Regions from separate parts of the Homo sapiens genome. Here all the other regions are linked to region 1. The links are contacts of gene promoters, found by promoter capture Hi-C in blood cells and fetal thymus (Javierre and others, 2016). All regions are on one chromosome and are shown on one strand. The core of a region is centred on a gene start or on the middle of the fragment in contact, and the rest is flanking DNA. Distances in the headings are between cores, read along the strand shown. Region 1 holds the start of CCDC171 (coiled-coil domain containing 171). Region 2 has its middle 190 kb from the start of TTC39B. Region 3 overlaps TTC39B (tetratricopeptide repeat domain 39B). Region 4 overlaps TTC39B (tetratricopeptide repeat domain 39B).

Evidence for each region. Contacts are between HindIII fragments. The CHiCAGO score rates a contact against its expected background, and 5 or more counts as called.
Region 2: a contact is called between a fragment that was not itself captured here and the fragment with the promoter of CCDC171 in region 1, in 1 of 17 cell types (fetal thymus). The highest score is 8.6, in fetal thymus.
Region 3: a fragment that was not itself captured here is called in contact with the fragment with the promoter of CCDC171 in region 1 in 10 of 17 cell types (total CD8 T cells, total CD4 T cells, non-activated CD4 T cells and 7 more); the score reaches 13.2 in total CD8 T cells.
Region 4: a contact is called between a fragment that was not itself captured here and the fragment with the promoter of CCDC171 in region 1, in 6 of 17 cell types (non-activated CD4 T cells, total CD4 T cells, activated CD4 T cells and 3 more). The highest score is 7.6, in non-activated CD4 T cells.

What each region holds. Positions count from the first base shown.
Region 1 is chr9:15,551,636-15,554,546 of GRCh38, reverse strand. It overlaps CCDC171 (coiled-coil domain containing 171), which reads right to left and starts at 1,504. Exons shown (of 26, transcript NM_173550.4): 1 at 1,245-1,504. RefSeq lists enhancers at 1,197-1,366, 1,262-1,907 and silencers at 1,647-1,736, 1,747-1,806. The HindIII fragment of the contact is 6,396 bases long and covers 1-2,835 here.
Region 2 is chr9:15,119,713-15,122,517 of GRCh38, reverse strand. No RefSeq gene overlaps it. Among named protein-coding and RNA genes, the nearest start is that of TTC39B, 190 kb to the left of the region's middle. The HindIII fragment of the contact is 1,489 bases long and covers 702-2,190 here.
Region 3 is chr9:15,278,995-15,281,969 of GRCh38, reverse strand. The region is part of intron 1 of TTC39B (tetratricopeptide repeat domain 39B); the gene reads left to right. Among named protein-coding and RNA genes, the nearest start is that of TTC39B, 27 kb to the left of the region's middle. The HindIII fragment of the contact is 2,092 bases long and covers 423-2,514 here.
Region 4 is chr9:15,253,735-15,256,876 of GRCh38, reverse strand. All of the region lies in intron 2 of TTC39B (tetratricopeptide repeat domain 39B), which reads left to right. Among named protein-coding and RNA genes, the nearest start is that of TTC39B, 52 kb to the left of the region's middle. The HindIII fragment of the contact is 1,194 bases long and covers 730-1,923 here.

The DNA of each region.
Region 1 (2,911 bases), core at 255-2,754:
ACGCCTAGGAAGGTTAGGTGGTTTGCCTGTGGGGACGCAGCTCATAAATGGCTGAGCCCCAAGACTAACACAGAAAGCTACAAACTAAGACTATGCCCTTCATCTTTCCTCTTAGCAGGTTGCACTGCCTTTGTTTCCTCTGCATTTTATGAAAAACCATGTTCATCTTCTGCTCTACCACTGTTTTGTTGAGAGTAGGAACTAACAGTTAAATAAAATAAGTGACATGCCGGGCGCAGTGGCTCACGCCTGTAATCCCAGCACTTTGGGAGGCCGAGGCGGGCGGATCACGATGTCAGGAGATCGAGACCATCCTGGCTAACACAGTGAAACCCCGTCTCCACTAAAAATACAAAAAAATTAGCCGGGCGTGGCGGCGTGCGCCGGTTGTCCCGGCTGCTGGGGAGGCTGAGACAGGAGAATGGCGTGAACCCGGGAGGCGGAGCTTGCAGTGAGCCGAGATCGCGCCACTGCACTCCAGCCTGGGTGACAGAGCAAGACTCCATCTCAAAAAAAAAAAAAAGTGACAAAATCGTATGTTCTTTTCTCCAATATTATGAAAACCATAAAACATCGGTATGTCATGTATTCAAAAGAGCTGGACACCAACTCTAATAAACAAAATAAAGACGTATTTATCTCATTTACCTAAAATGTATACATGAAATATGTATTTTCTTAGGATCAATATCATAATGGAATAAAAAAATTCAAAAAGTCGGCTCCATTTCTGCAGAAAATTTACAGCTTCGGGAAAACGCACAGCTGACTCAGATTCTAAGTCTCTCAGAGTCCTGGAGGGTAGGTAGAAGCTGCAGGTGACAGTCTAGCACAACTCATTCCCGTTTATCAAACATCTGTAGAGTGTCTAGTGTGTGGCCGGCATTTAAAAAGGGGAGAGCGGGCTGAAAGACGTGGTCCCTATCCTCGAGGGGCTTACTGATTCTCGGGAACGAAAGCGCTCCGCAGCAGTAACCCTAAGAAGCTCCAAATCCCGGTCCTCTGCCTCCCCTCTGGTCCCCATCCGGCGCTCTGGTACAGCCTCAGCGATCTCTGGCTAGGATGCTCCACGGAGATCTTCCTCCAGGTGGGCGGGGAGACCCAGCCCAGGGAGCTGGAGGCGTGCCCCAAAGCCTACGCCAACAGCCCCAGGGCCGCCCCAAACTCACTCAGGGGCCCCTACAACCCTCTCAACACCTCCCTCCCAAGTCGTCCGCCTCGAAGCCCCCACACCGTGCGGTTACCTCAGGGGTCTCGCGTGATCCGTGCTGCACACCCAAGACCCCAGGGGCCGCTCCAAGTCTCACGGGTGAAAGGAGGCCCAGGCAGCCCACGGGAATAAGAGCAAAAACTGTTGGAACACGACGGACTCCAGGACCCGGGAGGAGGGGGACAAACAGCAAAGGGGTACAGAAGGGGAAGAGCCCCCGGGAGGTGAAGTTTACAACTGCCACTTCCGGAGCTGAAAACACTCCGCTTCTCTCGCAGACCTTCCCAGACTTTCACAGGTCAGCCCAACTCAGGCCCGGCCCCACTTTTTCCTCCCGCCTCCCGCAGCCCTCAGCTTGCAGCTCCTGGATACGTACTCCGAGAACGCTGGCTCGGATTGGAAGAGCCCGCCCGCCAAGCAGCGCGCCTTCGCTGAGGGACGAACGGGCGCATGCGCCGTTGCTGGGGAGCGGCGGGCTCGCGACCGCACGCGCTCTCGCTCCAGGAGCTCCGCGTCCCCGCGCGGGGGTGCGCCCTGCCCACGCGCTGCTGTGGCTTTTCAGCGTGAGGTGTCCGCGTTCCTGTCTCAGTCGCCAGAGCCGAGTGGAAATGCAGATTTCCAGCTTCTAACCCCTTTTCCCTGCCTGCTGAATAAAAACCTAAGAGGTCGGATCCCAGATCCTGCTTTTTGAAACTGGTTCTTCTGCCCATCTTTAGAGCCACAGCAACGGTGGGCTGGTCCCGGGGCCTGGGGAGAAATTCTCTGGGCTCGGGTTCTGCCCAACTGCCTGGTTTACCTCTGTCTGGACAGCTCTCTGCCTGCACAGGGCATCCTGTCCCCTCTTCCCGTCCCCATTGTATCCCAGCTGGGAGTGGTGAGCAGGGTCGGAAGAATGCATTGATGCTGCTTGCAGTGCGTTTCATTATCAACATTACGTAACCAGGCACATCGTGGAAAACGCCTCGGAGCCTTAGCATGTGTGTTCCCTATCTCTTTCCTCGCTTCTCTCACTTTTCTCTGACACACACACACACACACACACACACACACACACACACACACACACCGTCCTCTTATTGATAATTTATACTTTGGTTCCTCCCGGTGGCTGCTTCACAATCTGCTGCCGCCTAAGGGAGACTGGAAAACCAACTCCTCTTTTGTTCCTTAACTTTTGAAAGCCTATTCTTCCAGAGAACAATGCAAATTGACAGGATTTGGTCAAAGATTTTTATCTTCACCACCACCACCTCCTCTGCACAAAAAGGTGTTTAATGCAAAACGAGCCTTCTATACTAAACTGGGTCCTTGTTGATTGTAATCAACCTGAAACCAGGTGTAGGGGCCGTCTTTTCTCTCTCCCATGGGAGAGCCAACGGTCATAAATGCAAACACAAATTGAGATTAAAACCTCCTTGATTCTTGTAGCACTGAAACCTTAATTGGTTTGATTTTAGTCATTTACATCTAAAACGGAGGCCTGTCCCTGATTCTTTTTACTAGAGCCATAAAGAGGACAATTGCTCCAGAGGAAATAAAGGGAAAAAATAGCCCACTCTAAAGTTTAGAAATGAAATGGAAAATTACAACTGACTAATGAGATTAGAACTTTTATGTTACAAGCTTTAAAAAATATTTTTAAATTTTATTTTTTTCTTTTTCTTTTTTTTTTTTTTTTTTTTGAAACAGGGTTGTTCTCTG
Region 2 (2,805 bases), core at 197-2,696, 430 kb after region 1:
TTTTGTATTTTTAGTAGAGACACAGTTTTGCCATGTTGGCCAGGCTGGCCTCAAACTCCTGACCTCAGGGTGCTCCACCCGCCTCGGCCTCCCAAAGTGCTGGGATTACAGGCGTGAGCCACTGCACCCGGCCTGATGGGACATGTTTATTATGCTGACTCAGGTAGACTGGAATCTCCTGTTTTCAGGAAAAACTGGTCTGTTAAGGGATCTATCTGCTTCCTTAAAGTTTCAATTTGATGATGGGACATTTAGCATGTGTGACTCCATTTTGTTTTGTTTTGCCCTGTTGGGCCTGAAATCCCAGCTACTCAGGCAGCTGAGGCAGGAGAATCGCTTGAACCCAGGAGGTGGAGGGTGCAGTGAGCTGAGATTGCACCACTTCACTCCAGCCTGCCAGCCTGGGCAACAGAGTGAGACTCTGTCTCAAAAAAAAAAAAAAAAAAAAAAGTTTCAGTTTGATGATGGGGCCTTTAGCATGTGTGACCCCATTTTGTTTTGTTTTGTTAGTCCAGGAGCTCAGTTCAAAACAATGACTTCCTATGGTTTTTGTTTAACACCTGCTACCTGATAATGGCTTCCTTTTCTACTTGCTCAGTGCCATAGTTCTGCTCTCTAACCCGTGCATTCTGGGCTGAGTACCTTCAGTCCAGAAAAAATTTTCCTACTTTCATGTAGTCTACATACGCATATTCAAAGCTTTAAACAATGTCTGTAACTTACATCAGCTGGGAGCCTTTGTTCTGATGTCTAGATAAAGTTTAAGATAAAGTGGCTTGAAACCACAGCCTGTAGATGTAAGATGCAGACTTCTTCAATTTCTTCCAAAAACTACACCCACACAAAGCATCTGTAAGCACAGTGAATTTTAGTTTAGGAAACTCAGTTGAGTAGAGTTTAGTTTACTTAAGTAGAGTTTGAATTAGGTTGAGTTGGAGCTGATTCAAGTATGAATTGAGAAGGGTTTTAACTGAGTAGAGAAGAATTTGATTTGAGTAGGGATTGATTTGGGTAGAGAATGAGTTACATAGAAGTTGGCTTGAGTAGAGTTTGAGTTGCGTAGAGGTTGTGTTGAGAAGGTGCTGAGTTATGTAGAGATTGAGTTTTACAAAGACTGAGTACTTCAGAGAAAGTGTTGAGGAGTTTGGTGGGAGATTTGGATGGCACAAGGAACAGAGGTCTCCATTTACATAGAATAAGAAATTAAAAGTCTATATTAAGCTCTCCAAAACCCTTTAAGGCCCTTCCATTTGGGGTCGTCCCATGGCTCTTTCCAGATGGAAAAGGGAGAAAGGGTTTCTTCATAGGGTCTTGTGCTTGTTCTGCTCTCTTTTCCTACTTTTCTTTCCTCTCCTCGACTCATTTAAACAACAAAGAAATTCCTTTCCTTGTCCTCAGAGCAGTTTCAAGTGTTTCTCTGATGGCCAGATGCTCAGTGTCTCAATTTATACTGCAAGTGCTCGTCAAAGCGTTTTTCAGAACCTATTCCATCCCTAGGAGGGCATGGTGCAACTGTTAAAATAATACATTTTTTCCTACCTCATCTTAAATTGGACTAGTGATAAATTACAAAATGTTTATTCTCTGTCTTCTTTCTTTTTGGTATACATTGACTAGAATGCTAGAAGTACATTAGTGGATATTGACATGAAGAACAAAAAGGAAAACTCAGTGTTCACTCATTGGAAAATGCTAAGATATACATATAGGTCAGCCCATATATTAATAGAGTCCTTTATGTTTCCAACAAATGAACTTGTCAAAGTGGCAATGGTAATTTATTTAAAGGGAGCCATGTCAAATCGTCTATGATGAAAAGATGCCACTATACCATAGTGTCATCCAAATCTTTCCATATATATTTGTGAAATTATAAAATCCCATTTGGTAAGCATACAAGTAGCTGAAATGACAGTTCCCACATTAGATCTAAAAGTTCAAGGCAAATTAAGATAGTAGGCACCACATGTTTACCAGGTGCTTAGTACCGTTCTGGGTATAAAAGATGCATGAGTCACAGTCCTTTGCTTCAGGGAAGTTGCAAATCATATTAGTGAAATAAGATATAAGTAGAAACAATTTTTAGATCATATGAGAAAGCATATTTAAGGACTAAGCTGTGGGGTCAAGCTCTGTGTTGTAGGATTTTGGAGAAGAGAAGGATGTGATGGTTTGGTCAGATTAAAAGCTTTTGAGAGGGAACTAGAACTTCAACTGTGCCTGAGCAAGAGAGGTTGGAAACACCAGGTGAGGAGAAGGTTTTGGATAAAGCTGGAGTTGTGGGAATGGGTTGAATGAGAGTGAGGAATAGGAAGGAGGGAGACCTATGGTAGAGAAGTATTTCTTGGGATCAGCTAGGTAAGGTGGGCATAGATTGGATTCCAGGCTGAAGAGACTGGAGTTTTCTTCACAGACAGAGGGACATCTCCCAGATATGACTGTCCACAAAAAACAAAGAAAGATACAATCGTTTAACTATGAAAACATTTTACAGTGTCGCAGAGCTCCTCCTGTGGTTTTATAATAATTATGGTTCTTAGCAGAAAGAGGGAGAACAATTTTTACTTTCTCAATGAGAATGAGGTGAAGAGAACATTTTTTTAAGTACCTCAAATTCATTTGTTTTGCATAATGTGAATTAAAACAAAACTTGCTGTTGGCTCTGTAACATTTTTGCCTGCCTGTGTCTGTTGAATTGCCAGCCTGCCTTGAAATAAAATCCACTTAAAAACTATTTTCTCTTCAAGAGGAGCAGGCTTGTGAAGCTTATTGTGTTCAGCTGGTGAAGTCCCAGAGACGCTGCTA
Region 3 (2,975 bases), core at 219-2,718, 270 kb after region 1:
GTGGTGGCTCATGCCTGTAATCTCAACACTTTGGGAGGCTGAGGTGGGTGGATCACTTGAGGTCAGGAGTTTGAGACCAGCCTGACCAACATAGTGAAACCCCACCTCTACCAAAAAATACAAAAATTAGCCGGACTACATGGCATGTGCCTGTAGTCCCTGCTACTCAGGGAAGCTGAAGTGGGAGAATTGCTTGAACCTGGGGGCGGAGATTGCAGTGAGCCTAGATTGTGCCACTGCACTCCAGCGTGAGTGACAGAGTGAGACCCTGTCTCAAAAAGAAAAAAAAAATGCAGAAGAGGCATTTAGCTTTTTGCCATTTTTTTTTTTTTTTTTTTTTTTTTGCTGTTGCAGGGGGGATGTTGGTAGGAGTGGAGGATAATTTAGTCTTAGCAGAAATTAATATGTAGAAGTCTTAAGCTTTTCTCCCTTAGATTGCCCCAAAAGGACAGATTTAACTTCTCAGCATCTCTGCTTTGCTAATACCAAAATTACCTATAAGGATAGATACCAAGAGAGGGAGGGCACTGTATGAGTGGTCCAGTATTTGGACACACAACTTTTCCCTGCAGTAATCATAATGAAAGTAATAATTTAATGGGAGCTGACATTATTTCGTACTTACTGTGAATAGGCATCATGTTAAAGCCTACGTACATCTCATTTAATTCTTCAACCCCATGAGTTTGATGGCACTGTTATTCCCATTTTACAGGTGATGAATAAGAATCTTAGAGAAGTACCTTGCCCAAGACCACACACAGTGGGTTTTTGTTGTTGTTGTTGTTGTTTTTAGATTTTTTTTCCTTTTAGTTTAGAAAGAGAAAAGGAAGGAAATAAAGAAAGTTTGTTAAAATAACTATTGCATAAAAGGACATCTGGGCTAGATGCTGGGATGTACCTCTTCCAGAATAGGGACTGATGATTTAAACAAAAAAAAAGACAAAAAAGAAAGAAAAAAGAAATAAATTATTCTTCTCAATACTGTTTGGGATAATTGCATTGTTTTCATCTTTTCAACACACAAAACAGCCTCTTTGGGAAGCACTGTGATGAGACTGGCAAGAATGGCTGGTGCCTCGACTCTCTAGAATGGTAGGGGGAGCCCTGAGAGAGGCATTCTACTAAACCCCACTGCAAGCATTCGCATTCTTTACTCCTCCTACTTTTGGAATTGGGAAGGACCAGACTCAAGCTAAGTTCTCAATATATTAACTTTTAGGGATACCCACTGCCTCTCCTGACCCTCTTCTAGCAAACTCCCCTGCTGGCCCCTTTTCCGCCAGCTAGCTGCAGCAACCATACCAAGGGCCAGGAGGCTGCTTGGTGGTCTCAGCTAAGCAAAAGCGGGGTATCATCATCACTGTTCGGGCCACACATAGTTGGTAAGTGATGGAGCTGATAGCGGGACTCTGCAGTCTTTGTTCTTAGTGTTATTTCTCCCTTGAATTTAAATCTTGAAGGCAGTGAGTTTTTTGGGCTAAATAATTTCTCGTATTTGCCAACCCTTTGAACTTTATAGATTTTTAACATTTGTTTCTCACTCTATCCTCAAAGCATCCAATGCGGTAGGGAAGGAAACCTGATGTTTCATTCATTGCGCAAACGTAGGCAAACTTTTTCTGTAAAGGGACAGCGTAAATATTTTTGGCTTTGAGGACTCTGTGATCTCAGTTGCAGCTATGCAGTTTGTGACTGTTACAGGAAAGCAGCCTTAGACAATATGTCAATTGATTGAGTTGTGGCTGTGTTTCAATAGCACTTTATTTACAGGCCGGGCACGGTGGCTCACACCTGTAATCCCAGCACTTTGGGAGGCCAAGGTGGGCCGATTACTTGAGGCCAGGAGTTCAAGATCAGCCAGGCCAACATGGCAAAACCCTGTCTCTACTAAAAATACAAAAAAATTAGCCGGGTTTGGTGGCATGTACTTGTAGTCCCAGCTACTTGGGAGGCTGAGGCAGGAGAATCGCTTGAACCCGGGGGGTGGAGGTTGCACTGAGCCAAGATCATGCCACTGCACCCCAGCCTGGGTGACAGAGTGAGACTCCGTCTCAAAAAAAAAAAAAAAAAAAAAGAAAAGAAAAAAAGTACTTTATTTACAAAAAAAGAAAAGGCAGCAGGTGGAATTTGGCCCTGTTTGTAGTTTCCTGACACCAATAGTAATAGACTGATCTATTTGGGGACATCAGGACATGTCAGCCACAGAGAAGGTGACTTAGGATTCTTAGTGCCAAGCATTGTGTGTGGTCCACTTCCTAACCTTTCCCAGGCTGCAGCACACAGTGCCACTCACGAGTACCTTTAGGAGATTCAAGGCACAACAATAATAGTGATAATAACTCATCTTTCTACTGGATGCATTGTTCTAAGTGCTTTTCACATCTGACATTAATCTATGGACAGCTGAGTGACATGGGAAATTGAGGTCCTAAGGAAAATAGCTTGCTCAAGGTCACAGAGCCAGTGGGTGGTGAAACTGGGATTTGAACCCAGATAGAGTGGTTCTAAGCTTGTGAGCTCAAGTCCCTTTACCTTCTCTCTCCCCCATTATAGGATTTCTCAGTTTGAGATCATCTTTGAAGCCTTACTCTTTGGGAACTGCCTCTTCCGAACACTCATATTGAGTGGATAAGGTTCTGTGTTCTCTTTTTGAGACATTTATTTTGGAGCAGAGCTACAAGTAAAGGACTGCTAACTCTGCCAATTTTCTGTTACAGCTGGATAGTTCAAGGGTGGAGCAAGATCATGCAGGAGGTTTCTTTTTGCTCATCCCTGGTCTACACCAGAGACTTTCAACTGCAGAAGCACTTTAATAACAGTAGAGATGATTTATTAAGTGTCTGTTTTGTTGATACTGTGCTAAGTGCATTAAATATATAATATTGGTTAAAATCTCACAATGCTGTAAATTAAGTGGTATTATTCCCATTGCACAGATGGAAAAGTTGAGGCTCAGTTATGGATAAGTTATT
Region 4 (3,142 bases), core at 77-2,576, 300 kb after region 1:
AGGTGGTTGGGCTCCCACATACTGCTTCTGCCTCATCGAGGGCAACTCTTGCCCTCATGCATGACCCTCCAGCCACAAGCCTTATACAGTTTTTTGTGAGAGTAAACCCTGTGCTGCTCCGGATTGGAGCGTGTTTGCCCTCACTCTTTTGAGGGCTTTTTGCTGGCCATCCTCCACTCTCAGCTGGCGTGTCCTCCCACTTTCTCAGTGACTCCACCAAAACAGTTAGTCTTCCCCCATTTCTCTGTCTTGGCATCTTGTTTGTTTCTATCACTCCATTTCTCATTTTGCAGTTAATTGTTACTTGTTTTTTGATCATCTGTTTTTTTGAGCTCCAAGTTCTATAACGATGGGTCTGATCTACTTTGCTTGTCATGGTGTACTTGGCACCTATGCACCATGCTTGTCACATAGTAGGTGCTCAGTATATATGTGTTGAAAAAATGAATGTGTGAAATTAATATACTGTCTTAGTCCATTTGGGCTGCCGTAACAAAATCCATTAGACTGGGTAATTTATAAACAATGGAAATTTATTTCCTCACTGCTTTGTAGGCCGCAAGGTCCAAGAGTAAAGTGGCAGCAGATTGAGTGTCTGGTGAGGGCCCATTCCTCATAGATGGTGCCTTCTTTGTGTCCTCACGTGGTAGAAGGAAGCAGAAAATAGTGGAAAGAGGGGAAAGAAAAAAAAAAGAAGAAGGAAAAAGGGCAAAGAGACTCCCTCAAGCTTTTTTGTTAGGGTACTAATCCCATTTACAAGGGTGGAACCCTCATGACCTAATCACCTTCCAAAGGCCCCACGCCATCACTTTGGGGGTTAGGTTTCAACATATGAATTTTGGAGGGACACAAACATTAAACCATAGCATGTACTATTAAGAAAATATAGGTGGATCCTCAGAGTAGACTGCTAGGATTTGCAGTAAATTAAAGAAAAAAATGTAGCCACCATTGAGTTCCTAATGAGTATAGGGCACAGTGATAATTGCTGTGATTATTCAAATGGTTAGTTAAGGGATCTTTTGGAATACACAGTTAAAAAAAAAGACTGTGGCTGATTGTGTTCATAAACTCAAATGCATATATAATTAAATAAAGTCCAAATGTTTGGGCATAGTAAACACTATCCATAATTGTTGGTGTCTCCATTGCCATTTTTCTCTGAAGGGCTGACTCAGTTTTCACTTGACGTTTGCATAAATGAGTGTCAGAATCTTAAAGGATACAGTGAGCTCATTGCCTTTTGTTAACTTTTTACCCTGTTTCACCTGACATCCTTTTTTTTTTTCTGACGCCTTCATCCATTCCCTTTTCATCTACCTCACGATAAAAATAGGAACCTAAGATGACTAATAAAACACCCAAAAGCATATACTTGGGAGCTTTGTCTTTTGAAATGCGCCAAACTTCTTCATTGCTTGTGTTCCGAAAATCATCAGCCTCTCTGGTCTCCTTTCTTTTTCCTTCTTCCCTCTTTCCCCCTTTTGTCTCTGCTTGTGGAACATTATTCTACGACCAGAGAATAGAACTCCTCAAAGGCATAGTGATATTTGGTTTAGGTACATTTTTGAATAGTGTATAGTTCAGTACCATGCATGATGCACATCTAATAAATAGTCTGAAGACTTAATAGCCATCAACAAATTGGAAGAACCCTGAAATTGCCTAAAACTGAAGAGATATTTGGGGATTTACATATAACTTTTATTATTGTATAAAGTAATTTCTATGTTATTTATTTTATTTTTATTGTCTAGAATGAAAATATTCATACCAGCAGCGGTCTTTTAAAATTACCTGATGAGCAGAATGTTATAGTTAGAATGAAAAATGTTAAAACTCCATATAGCTCTGATGAATTAACCTTTTCAAAGGTGTGGGCATAGTATTTGGTCTCCCCTGTAGGCAATACAGCTATAAGCTTTTGATTTTTATTTATTTTAGTAGTTAGGAAAGTTTTCTGCAAGCGTAACTTGACTTTTATGCAGCAAAAAAAAAAAAAAAGTGTGTGTGTTTGTGTGTGTGTGTGTGTGTGTGTGTGTGTGTGTATAAAGTTATGTGTGTCAGATCTCCCATTGGCTTAAGGGATTCTTTGCCATTTAAAAATTTCAGCTTAATTTGAAAGAAGTTATACCCATAATGTGTAGTTTGCTTTGATTAAAATAATTTTATGTAATCACTGTAAGAAAATTAAGCCTGTGATTGGTATTTAAAAAGTGTATTTTAAACGATACATTCTCTTTGTCTCGGTACAGTAGATGGGTCCTGTATTTTCAGCAGAACTTAGTTACTAAACTTGTATAAGGATACCTTTTCAGACAATCCCATAGAAGTAAAAATTATTTGGTAATATGTATTTAACCTACAAAATAATTTATTTGAAAGCATTTTGTAAAACTGCAAAGCGTAAAGCAAACGTAACATAGTATATACATATAATATATTGAAGAGCACTGCTGTTTTTGTAAAAGCATTATTTCTTTCATGATGTAAGACATTTTCATATAGCTGTTTCATACAGTCTCACAATGGCTACCTTAAACTATAAAAACACTTTTTAAAGATTTAAAAAAAGAACACATTAAAAAAAATCTAACAAATATCTAAGAAATAAAATTATCCCTGGTCATTTCCCAGTTCTGAGACCTACTCCATCAAAACAGGGAAAAGGAAGGAGAGGATGCCTTCATTGCATGGTTCTTTTTTTTTTTAATGCTGGTTTTATGAATTTATAGACACCCCAGGTTTAACAAGCCTTTATTGAACACATCCTTTACATCAAGCATTAAGCTATTTTAAGGGGACAGACTTGACAAAGGGGATGTGGGTATGGAATGGGAGTGTCCAGGAAGTCTCGAGTCCACATTTTTTCTCCAGTCAAGTCTCAATGTTGACACTGAGCCAGGGGCCAGGGTGCAAAGGGGAGAGGTTCACATGTGCAGGGATGTGTTGCTTTGTATGGTTCTTAGTAATAAAGGACAATAGTTGGAGATGTTATTGTTTAAATATTAAGAGCAAATTAAGGCATATAATTCTATCTTTTTTTGGGTAGAGAAGTCTGTTTCAAACATGGCACCAATAGGAAAAAAGAGTGATAGTTTTGATTGTTATGACAAAACCCTTACAAGCCCATTTCAAAGAG